2 separate regions of the Homo sapiens genome follow, and region 2 is linked to region 1. Evidence: promoter capture Hi-C in 16 types of primary human blood cells and fetal thymus (Javierre and others, 2016). All regions are on one chromosome and are shown on one strand. Each heading gives the region's core, a stretch centred on a gene start or on the middle of the fragment in contact. The rest is flanking DNA. Distances are from core to core; before and after follow the strand shown. Region 1 holds the start of CNN1 (calponin 1). Region 2 holds the start of ZNF823 (zinc finger protein 823).

What was found. Contacts are between HindIII fragments. The CHiCAGO score rates a contact against its expected background, and 5 or more counts as called.
Region 2: a contact is called between the fragment with the promoter of ZNF823 here and the fragment with the promoter of CNN1 in region 1, in 11 of 17 cell types (total B cells, erythroblasts, non-activated CD4 T cells and 8 more). The highest score is 13.5, in total B cells.

What each region holds. Positions count from the first base shown.
Region 1 is chr19:11,536,336-11,541,797 of GRCh38, reverse strand. CNN1 (calponin 1) reads right to left here and starts at 2,947. Exons shown (of 7, transcript NM_001299.6): 1 at 2,808-2,947; 2 at 601-722. The coding sequence starts at 2,870. RefSeq lists enhancers at 138-257, 3,031-3,976 and silencers at 1,922-1,971, 5,400-5,462. The HindIII fragment of the contact is 23,519 bases long and covers 1-5,462 here.
Region 2 is chr19:11,736,242-11,741,703 of GRCh38, reverse strand. It overlaps ZNF823 (zinc finger protein 823), which reads left to right and starts at 2,758. Exons shown (of 4, transcript NM_001080493.4): 1 at 2,758-2,887. The coding sequence starts at 2,885. RefSeq lists silencers at 2,580-2,774, 3,035-3,184 and enhancers at 2,785-2,864, 3,255-3,384. The HindIII fragment of the contact is 8,001 bases long and covers 970-5,462 here.

The DNA.
Region 1 (5,462 bases), core at 1,698-4,197:
AACATGGTGAAACCCCATCTCTACTTTAAAAAAATACAAAAATTAGCCAGGCATGGTGGTGCGTGCCTGTAATCCCAGCTATTGGGGAGGCTGAGGCAGGAGAATCACTTAAACCCTGGAGGCGGAGGTTGCAGTGAGCCGAGATTGTGTCTCTGCACTGCAGCCTGGGCAACAGAACAAGACTGTATCTCAAAAAAACAAAAAGAAAACAGAAAGAAAACCAGGGCCTCCTTTAATTATTGCTGCACATCTCTCCTCACATCACCAAGCCAGCCATGAACAGCTGTTGGCTGCTGCCTTTTAGCTGTGACCGCTCTTTCTGGGGACTCTGGCGGCCACAGATGGGCCTACCCTATATAGCATGGTGGTTAAGATTCTAGAGTCATTTCCCTTGAAACCACGTGGGACTTGGTGCAATGCATTTCACCTGAGCCTCAGTTTTCTGTGCCTGTTAAATGGGCACAATGATTACTGGCCACCCCAAAGGTATCCAATAGAAAGTGTTCAACTCAGTTCCAGGATCATGGTTGTTTTGGGGGTTGAGGGGCTGCATGGAGTTGGGGGATGTTGCAGGGTCTCGGCTTCGAGAGCCTCACTCACTCGCAAAGAATGATGCCATCTTTGAGGCCGTCCATGAAGTTGTTGCCGATGCGACGGCCTGTCACCCCCTCGATCCACTCTCTCAGCTCCTGCTCCCGCTGGTGGTCATACTTCTGGGCCAGCTGGGGCGAGGGGAGGGCAGGGGGCACAGAGAAAGGGGTGAGGATGCATTGGGGGCAGCCTGGGCTCCCTGGGTCCTGTCTGAACTTCCTAGAGCCTGATCTCCCTCGTCCTTCCCAACTAAGGCAATTTTGCCCCAGATCCATAGTTGGGGGATGGGGGCTGGGGCGGGCTGAGAGCCAGGGCTGAGGTGGCACCTGCCCAGGGGGCCATTCCGGGCATTCTGAGGTTTGGCACCAGGGAATGTAGATGAGGGGTGGGGTGTGGGGAGCTGGATCCTCTGAGCTAGAGGGGTGGCACCCGGCACCCTGGTTTTTCGCCCAGGCCAAACTTGGGGCTTCTCTTCCTCTAGCCCTGCCCCCTCTGTGCCCCCTGTTGGAAGAGAGGGCACCTCAGGAAGGGAAGAAGGATGTCTAAGGAGGTGTCCCTGGGTGCTGGCTTGCAGAGGAGTGCTGGTCATACATCTCTGTCTCTCCGTGTCCCCCAGGTCTTCAGCTCCAGGGCTCTGTCTCTGGTTAGTGGTGGGGGCTTGTCTCTGTCTTAGCCCCCACCCCTTGCACGTCTGTATGTCTCTCTCCCTCTTATCCCCCCGACTCCTCTGTCTCTCTCTTCCCCAGCGCTGTCTTTTCTTGGCCCAGTCTTGGGTCCCCATCTCTCTAGGTGGCTAGTCCCTGTCTGGCCAGGGGTAGGGCTCCTGGGTCTTGTATATCTGCCTCTCTAGGTCTTTCTCTGTCTCCAGGTTTCCTGCCTGGGGTGGGGGTGGTGGGGCTCTGTCTCCTCTCCCTGCCCCTCCATCCTTGTCTAGGTCTTATCTCGCTCCTGGCTCGCCCTCCCCCGTCTGTCCCTAGGGTGTCTCAGGCTCCCAGTATCTCTGTCTGCCTCTCCCCCCACCTCCCTGCTTTTCCCTCTCTCCACTGTCCCCCCCCTCCCCCACTCCACTCCCATTTCTCCAGAACCCTCCGCCCAAGCCCAGCCAGGCTCCCAGCCCCTAGGGGACCGGGCTGCCTCTTCTTCTCCCGGGTGAGTGGGGGGAGGTGGGAGGGGCGGCCCCCTCACCTGGCCCTGGCCCTGCCGCCCCCCACGCCACCAGCCCGGCTTTATAAAGCAAACCGGCCCTTATATAGCGTGGCCCGGGCTCCCCGAGGCCGCCTTATAAGGCGCGGCGTCTCTGCGCGGCTCTGCGCGGCTCTGGGGCCGGCGCTGGGGGGGAGGAGGGCGGCGCTGGGATCTGTCTCTCGCCCGAGGACCCGCCCCCCACCAGCCCCCTCCTCCAGCCCCGAGATCCCTCGACCCAGGTTCCAACCCAGTCCCCCACTTCCTCACCATGGGACCCTGGGAAAAGCCACCCTGAGCCTCAGTGTTCCCCTCTGTCAAATGGGGCAGGAACTCCTCCCTCGGCAATACTGTTGGGGCGATTCCAGTGGGCTGGAAACTTAAAGTTCTCCAGCTGGGAGAAGCTGAGCCCATCCTGGTGTATGGGGGGTGAGTCCAGGGTCCGAGCGCTGTACCTGCTTTACCTGGGACCCCAGCTATTTGCCTCTCCTCTCCGAACCTCAGTTTACCCAACCATAGCATGAAGGTGGTGTCCAGGTATCTTCCTAGCTCCACAGTCAGGAGACCCCTGCCGCACTTCTGATGCCCGCTTCCTGCCTTTCACCGTCCCCCTCTGTCTTCAGGATCTCCCACACTTTCACGGCGTCACTTCCCAGGTACCCCAGCACTCAAGCGCTCCCCAATTTCTTTGTCAGGCCGGGGGATATGGAAAAATCAACAAGTCTTCCCCCTATGTTGTTCCCCCCAAGAACACGAAGGGTTAACAGAAGACTGATCAGGTGGGTATCTTTGCAATGGACTGACCCCCTCTGTTTATGTGTGGCTGTGTGCCCCCCCATTCCAGCCCCAACCATAGCTGGGGGCTCCGGGATGTTCAGGGGGAGACAGGCAGCCCCTATCCCATATCACTCCCTTTTCCCCTCTCAGTTTCCAAGTCACATAGGATAGGCAGGAGGGGGTTCAAGGGACCCCAAGCTCAGGGCTCTGGCCTGGCAGGACGTGTGGGCCAGGCCAGGGAGGCCCTCCAGCCCTACCTTGTTCTTAACCTCGGCTGACAGCCCGTAGGCAGGGCCTCGGTTGAAGTGAGCAGAGGACATGCTGGCCGGTGGGCTCTGGCGGGGGCAGTGGCGGCACTGACGCTGAGAACAGAGGCAGCGGCTGAAGTTCCGTCTGCACACTCTTCCCTCCTCACATGTTTTTGAAGCTCCGGAGGCGACCCGGGTCTCTTCCAGGGCCGTTCCATTGGCTGTAGGGGCCTGCCAAGGGGCGGGGCACCTCCCCCCACAACCTCAGCTGCCTTCCCCTCCCCTTGTGATGTCAGGCCCTTGGTATTGGGAGCTGATTGTGTCATTGTTTCCACCTAGGGGGGCAGCCTGCGTTATTCTGGGGGGGCTTGGTCAGACAGAGACCAGCCTTCTTCCACCCACCCCTCCCACTGTCCATTGGGCCTCTGGCTGGGTCTGAGTCTCTTTGTCTCTGAGGTCATCTCTCTTTATCTCTCTGGAGTCTTGAAGCAGGACTGACACCCAAGGTAGTTTAGTGAGCACCATCCCGGGTTTATCTCCAGATACCAACAGTCTATAGCCTTAGGTAAGCCCCTTCTCCTCTCTGGGCCTCTATGGCCACATCTGTAAAATGGGCTAACGATAGTGCCTGCCTCATGGGAGAGTTGTAAAGATCAGAAGAATATGCCTGTTACATGCCCAGCACAGTGCCCGGCACAGCAGAGGGACTCGGGCCATAGCAGTCTTTTTAAGGCAAGGTTTCACTCTGTCCCCTCGGCTGGAGTGCAGTGGCACAATCACAGCTCACTGCAGCCTTGACCTCCCAGGCTCAAGTGATCCTCCCATCTCAGCCCATCCAAGTAGTTAGAATTGCAGACTTGTGCCACCAACCTGGCTAATTTTATTTTATTTTTTTAGAGATGGGGTCTCGCTATGTTGCCCGGGGTCTCGCTATGTTGCCCAGGCTGGTCTCAAATTTCTGGGCTCAAGCAATCTGCCCGCCTTGGCCTCCCAAAACGCTGGGATTTACAGGCATGAGTCACCATGCCCAGCCTATAGCATTCTTTATGCTGAGGGTCCAGCACCCCAGTTCTGTCTCCTCCAGCCCCTCATAAGGACCTGGGGGAGAAGAGATCCTGGGTCTCACCCTCCCCATCCACTTGTGTGTCACCTGAACTACAGGGTGACTTTGTTGGCAAGTCCCAGGCCGTGAACTGTGTCCCTGTCAAACAGCCCTACCCAGCCAGATCTCACCCCTGGACCACAGGGGTGGATGCTATGCCCACATCATGCCCCACATGGCAAGGCCATGTTTGTGACACTTGGATGACATGTCTGCAACCTGCCACACACTAATGATATGTTGAGGATATGCAGTTTATCGGTCACATGCTAATGGCATGGCTGCAATATGCCACAGACTACAGCCCTTATGTCAGGCCATGTTCCAACTCTGTACATATATCCATTCAATTCTCATGACGCCCTCAGAGATGGACACTGTTATTATTATTATTATTATTATTATTATTATTATTTGGAGACAGAGTCTCTATTCCCCAGGCTGGAGTGCAGTGATGCTATCTCGGCTCACTGCAACCTCCACCTCCTGGGTTCAAGCGATTCTCCTGCCTCAGCCTCCCAAGTAGCTGGGATGACAGGTGTCTGCCACCACGACTGGCTATTTTTTGTATTTTTAGTAGAGACGGGGTTTTGCCATGTTAGCCAGGCTGGTCTCGAACTCCTGACCTCAGTTGATCTGCCCACCTCGGCCTTGCAAAGTGCTGGGATTACAGGCGTGAGCCACCGTGCCCAGCTGACACTGTTATTATTAATACAAGTACTTTGCTTTACAGGTGGGGAAACTGAGGCACGGGGGCTTGGAATCACTTTTTCAGCGTCACACAGCAGGCCAGGGGCAGAGGAGAATTTGAGACCATGCTCCATGAACCTCAACTATGAGGCTAAGGTGGGGTTTCTCAACCTCCACACTGTTGACAGCTGAGGCTGGATAATTCTTCATGGTTGGGGGGCTGCCTTGGGCATTCATTGTAAGACTTCAAGCAGCATGCCTGGCCTCTACCTGCTACATGCCAGTAGCACTCTCTTAGTCCTAATAAACAGAAATGTTGAGGCACTGCGGCAGGACCCTGTAGTCCCAGCTACTAAGGAGGCTGAGGTGGGAGGATCCCTTGAGCCCAGGAGTTTGAGAACCATCTGGCCAAGATAGCAAGACCATGGTCTCTAAAAAAGAAAAATTAAAAGAAGAAATGTCTACACACATTGCCAATGTCCCATGATTGGGGTCGGGGTGGAAGCAGATCACCCCTGTTTGCCAACCACTGAGCTAAGGCAATGTGCTAGTTGATGGCATGTCATGATATGTTGAACATACACGAAAATACATAAAATACGAGGCCAAGGCGGGAGGATCGCTTGAGCCCTGGAGTTCGAGACCCGAGACCAGCTTAGGCAACATAGCGAGACCCCGTCTCTATTTAAAAAAAAAAAAAAGAAAAAATAGAAAGTACATAAAATGAGCTAACAATTAGCACCTGCTACGTACTAAGAGCTTTGAGCCTGTTAACTCATTCCTCACGACAGCCTTATGAGGTGGGTCTATACGAGGCACAGAGAGGTGACGCCGAATGGCCGGGTCACACAGCTCGAGGGTGGCAGGGGCGG
Region 2 (5,462 bases), core at 1,509-4,008, 200 kb before region 1:
CTTCTGCCCTGTGAGGATGCAGTGTTCCTTCCCTCCAGAAGATGCAGTAAGAAGGCCCTCCCTAGGTGCTGGCACCTTTATCTTGGAATTCCCAGCATCCAGAACTACGAGAAAACTAATTAATATTCTTTATAAATTGCCCACTTGGCAGTAGTTCATTATAGCAGCACAAATGGACTAAGACACTCTTCATGGATAGTTAATTAATCTTCAACAAATAGGCCAAGATAAATTAAAGGGGAAAGTCTTTTCAACAAGCTACTAAGGAAGTTGAATATTGACCTTCAGAAACACGAACTGAGCTCCTTACTGCATGCATTAAAGTTAACTCACACTGAAATGGTACATTTAGCAGCAGATATTAGAGGATATCTTCGTGACAGAGGGTTGGGGAAGGAGTTGTGTTTCCTTTTCTTTTAAAAAACTCAGAAATAGCCGGGTGCAGTGGCTCACAACTGTCATCCCAGCACTTTGGGTGGCCGAGGCAGGCAGATCACCTGAGGTCAGGAGTTTGAGACCAGCCTGACCAATATGGAGAAACCCTGTCTCTACTAAAAATATAAAATTAGCCAGATGTGGTGGCGCATGCCTGCAATCCCAGCTACTCAGGAGGCTGAGGTGGGAGAATTGCTTGAACCCGGAGGCAGAGGTTGCGGTGAGCCGAGATTGCACCATTGCACTTCAGTCTGGGCAACAGGAGCAAAACTCCATCTCAGAAAAAAAAAAAAGACAAACTCAGAAATAAACATCCTAACTCAGAAAAGCATGGTGTTGCCATAGAACTGACTGTGAGGAAACTAACAGCAATACTTTCTATATTGTGTTTAAACTTGCACATACAAATTTTGGGCTTTCTAGCTTCTCTTAGGATTTCTTTTATACTTTCTCTGGGGGAGGGGGTGTGGGTCTCACCATTGTTGATTTTTCCTTCATCATGGTAATGCGAACAGCTATTTTTGTCTGGAAGCTTTTATATGTATTTAAATCATTGCAGAAATCAACTACTTACTTGTTGCCATTTGTAAAAATATACAGAATCTGTATATAAACCCCTGACAATCAGTTAGTTTGATACATTGTGCCCTCTTTTAATATGTGTGGAAACAAATAAATAGAACATTGTTCCAGGAGCAGTTAATGTGAGGAGTGAGGGGTGGAGCATTTCATAAAATAGTAGTTTATCCTTCAGAGAGCAGTTTCTAGCATAATAGACTGTGGGAGTGTGTGTGTGTGTGTCTGTGTGTGTGCTTATTATTTTTTTTTAAGGAAACAGTATCATTTATGCATTAGGTTATACTCAGACGTCATTTTTTTCATTCATTTTCTAAACGTGCCCATTTGTCCTGGCAGAAAATGCTATAGTTTCTAGAAGTTGATTGAAGATTTCATTTCATCTATTGACATCTCATGTTCAGCTCCTTTCTATTTAGCCATGGCTACCAGCTTCTAGTTCATAACGCTTTTTTTTTTTTTTTTTTGAGATGGAGTTTTTTTTTTTCCTCGCTCTGTTGCCCAGGCTGGAGTGCAGTGGTGTGATGTCGGCTCACTGCAACCTCTGCCTGCCGGGTTCAAGCGATACTCCTGCCTCAGCTTCCTGAGGAGCCGGGATTACAGGAGCGTGCCACCACACCCGGCTAATTTTGCGTTTTTAGTAGAAACGGGGTTTCATCATGTTTGTCAGGCTGGTCTCAAACTCCCGACCTCAGGTGATCCACCCGCCTCAGCCTCCCAAAGTGCTGGGATTACAGGCGTGAGCCACCGCGCCCGGCCATAACGCTTTTAAGTCTAGTATTTTTACTTCATAAACATATGGAGAAAGGCTAATGTTTTCAAATTCAAAGTGTGATGTCTTGGCTTTTGATTGGAGCGTTTAATTCATTAACATTTAATGGCATAAGGAGGGAGCATTTCCACGCTGTGCAGAGGGGACAGGTATTTTGAGACCTCAGAGTAAAATTCTTAATTGTCCCTCCCTTATCACCAGCTTCTGATCCACCCCGGAGCTCCATTTTAGGAATCATTGCCTGGCTTCCCAGCTTGGGGATATGTTTGACCTCCTGAAAGGGGGTCTGCTTGTGAACTGTGAGTGCAGTAGGCTGCTTCTCTGAGCTTGTTCAAGTTTTTGCTTTTCTTCTCTTTTGATTCTTTATGAAATATTGCTGCCATATAATTCCAGTTTTTCCACATACTCAACTATTTTATTTTGTTGTCCTGTTTTTATCTTCTGGGCTGAAAATGAGTAGATTGAGAGATAAGGTGAGGGAAAGGCTTGGCAACGTCGCCAACAGCCTCATCCCAAATTCCTGATCCCTGGAGGACATCAGGCCCTCCCTCCTGCTGCAGGGTGGCCTGTGTGCCCCGGGCTCCCCTCCTGCTCCGAGGTCCGGGAATGGCTCCACTGGACAGGGAGCCTGGAATTCCCTGCACACACTTGTGAGTCCCTGTCCAGGAGGAAAAAGCAGGAAGAACCCACTGAATACAATCAGGAAATTCTAAAATGCAAACGTCACTTCGGGAGGGGTCAGGTCACTCCGTTGGGAGGAAGCCCGCCTTGCCAAGGGTCGTGCCTGGAACCTGTTCATCCGGCTCCACTCAGCACTGTGAGATCGCTTCTTCTGTCAATCAGCCACCAAGGGGCGGGACCTGGAGCACTATCCAATCAGGGATGAGGGGGCGGGGATTGTGAGAACTGTCAATCAGGCACGCTGCAGGGAGGAGGGTGCGACGTTCAAAGAGCCCGCGGAGTCTTCTCCACGCCCCTGCGCTCTGAGTCCTGGCTCTGGCGCTGAGAGAGAGACGCCCTGGAAGGTCTGTATCAGCGTCTGTCGCGCTGGGACCCACACTGGCTTTTAAGGAGGACACCCGGACACCTGGAAGCTGGGAAATGGTGAGTGTGCGGGGCCCGGCGTCCCGAGGCAAAGAAGGGGCAGGTTGGAACCGGCCGGAACCGACCGTGAGGGGACCCGGGCCTCGCCCTGGGCGACTCCGGGGTCTGCAAATCCCAGTGCCCCTGGCGCAGCTCTGCCCTTGGTCCCCTGGGCCGCAAGATGGGGCTGGGGCGGCAGCCGGGACCCCGGGCGTCCTGTCCCGTCCCTGCTCGGCCGCTGCGGCCCCGGCCCCGGCGCCCTCTCTGGGCAGCTCCGCGCCCGCAGCTCCGCGTCTCCCCAGATTGTGCAGTTGTAACCGGCACAGGTTCACGGCCCGAGTCACTGCACCGAGACGCCGAAGGCTGCAGCAGAAACAGTTTAATGGGGGAGAGGGGAGGACACCCCAGATCCGCCTCCCTGAGAGGTTTGGGGATGGGGTGTTTAGAGGTGTGGACAGGGACGGCTGGAGTGTGGGGTCGCTGGTTGGTGGAGAAGTGAGAGGTGACTCCTGGGACTGGAGGTGAAGAAACCGCATTCTGCTGAGTGGGTTCCCTTGTGGGGTCTTCAGCCTGGTTGGCGCCAGCCTTTCCGCTGCAATTCAGGATCCGAGAAAGAACTGAGGCGACCCGTGAGCAACTCTCAAGAGATCTTATCCCCGGGCACGATGAGGAAGCCGGCGGTCAGCGTCTGCTGTGACCTGACTCTCAGGGAGGCGGCCCCGTGAGGCAGCGGGGCTGAGGGCACCTGGTTAATATCTAACTGCAATCTCGCCTCCAGCCTGGCTCGCAGTTCCTGTGAACCCGGTGAGGACGCTGCACGGTGACAACGGAGGGTCACCAGGCAGAATCCAGACTCGTGTGTGTGGGCTTTGTGCTTTGGAAGAGAAGCTGTGATCTGTGGGTTCCCCAGTCCCTTCTTTCTTCCCAAAGGTGACCGGTTTCCCTCCGAGTCTTCCAAAGATGTGGGCAGCAGGGTCTCAAATCCACCACCCTATCCCCTCATCCTAACTCCTCCTAGGGCTGGCAGCAAATCTCTTGGTTTTCAGAGCCTTCCCCAGGCTAACTGTCTCTCATCAATTCCCAGCAACTTTATGAACTCTTTGTCCCTCAGGCAATATTTCAAACAGAGGCATTATTTTAATTGTCACTTTCTTTTCACATAGCAATGTATGGCTCTTTTTAAAAGATGTGTTTTTGTGTTTGTGAACATTTCACATGTGAGGAAGCAAAGAATAACCACTTGACTCCAGTGTGAAAAAAAAAAAAAAAAAAAAAAAGCCGGGCGCGGTGGCTCACGCCTGTAATCCCAGCACTTTGGGAGGCTAAGGCTGGCGGATCACCTGAGGTCGGGAGTTCGAGACCAGCCTGACCAACATGGAGGAACTCCGTCTCTACTAAAAATACAAAATTAGCCGGGGTGGTGGCTCATGCCTGTAATCCCAGCTACTTGGGAGGCTGAGGGAGGAGAATTGCTTGAACCCGGTAGGCGGAGGTTGCGGTGAGCCAAGATCACGCCATTGCACTCCAGCCTGGGCAACAAGAGTGAAACTCCGTCTCAGAAAAAAGAAAAAGAAAAAAAAAATAGTGCATGTGTGGCTGTCCTTTATCTTGTCTACACAGAGATACCCGAATATTTTCAGTCGAGGTTCCTCTTTGCAAATGGCACAGGGTGATCTGTCAGCCCACCCTCTATGGTGTCCTGGTCCTGGGTTACAGAACTGTTTGGGGCTGCTCCAAGATGCTCATAGCTGCTAAGTCTTTTGTAGTGTCTAGTGAATATCAGCTTTGAGTCACTCCTCCCAGAGGACAGCCAGAGGTGGGGGGTGGGACCTTATAGGGGAGCAGCTGGATGTCGTGGGGTGGGAGGAGTTTCCTGGTATACTGTTCCTCAAAAAGCAAAGCCCTTAAGACATTCAGCTTTTCTTCCCCACCCCAGTTTCCATTCCCTGGGGACACATGGCTGATGAGCCAGCTGGTTGGCGGTATTGAGGGAGCTTCTCCTTGGAGGGTAATTACTCAGCAGTTCAGTGAGCAGCACTGGGGTGGGAGATGTCCCAAGTGATAAGAGGACCTGAACTGACACTAAAGTAGTCAGATTTGTCTGTGTTCCAGTCAGCCCCTCCCTGCATTTGTCATCTTGAAAAGATTTGTTCACTCATTTCAGCTTTTTATTAACTGCAAAATGCATTTTATCATTAGAGCTTAATAAAGAAGATAAAGTATGTTCAAAGAGACAAGAACAAGTTGGGTTTCAGCAAACTCATTACATATTTAGTCCTATATTTTATTTCTTTTTAAAACTTTTATTTACTTTTTTTTGAGACGGAGTCTCGCTCTGTCACCCAGGCTGGAGTGCAGTGGTGGGATCTTGGCTCACTGCAGCCTCAACCTCCTGGGTTCAAGCAATCATCCCACCTCAGCCTCCTGAGTAGCTAGGATTACAGACGTATGCTACCATGCCCAGCTAAAACTTTTGTATTTTTAGTAGAGACGAGGTTTCACCATATTGGCCAGGCTGGTCTCGAACTCCTGACCTCAAGTGATCCACCTGCCTTGGCCTCCCAAACTGCTGGGATTATAGGAGAGAGCCACCGTG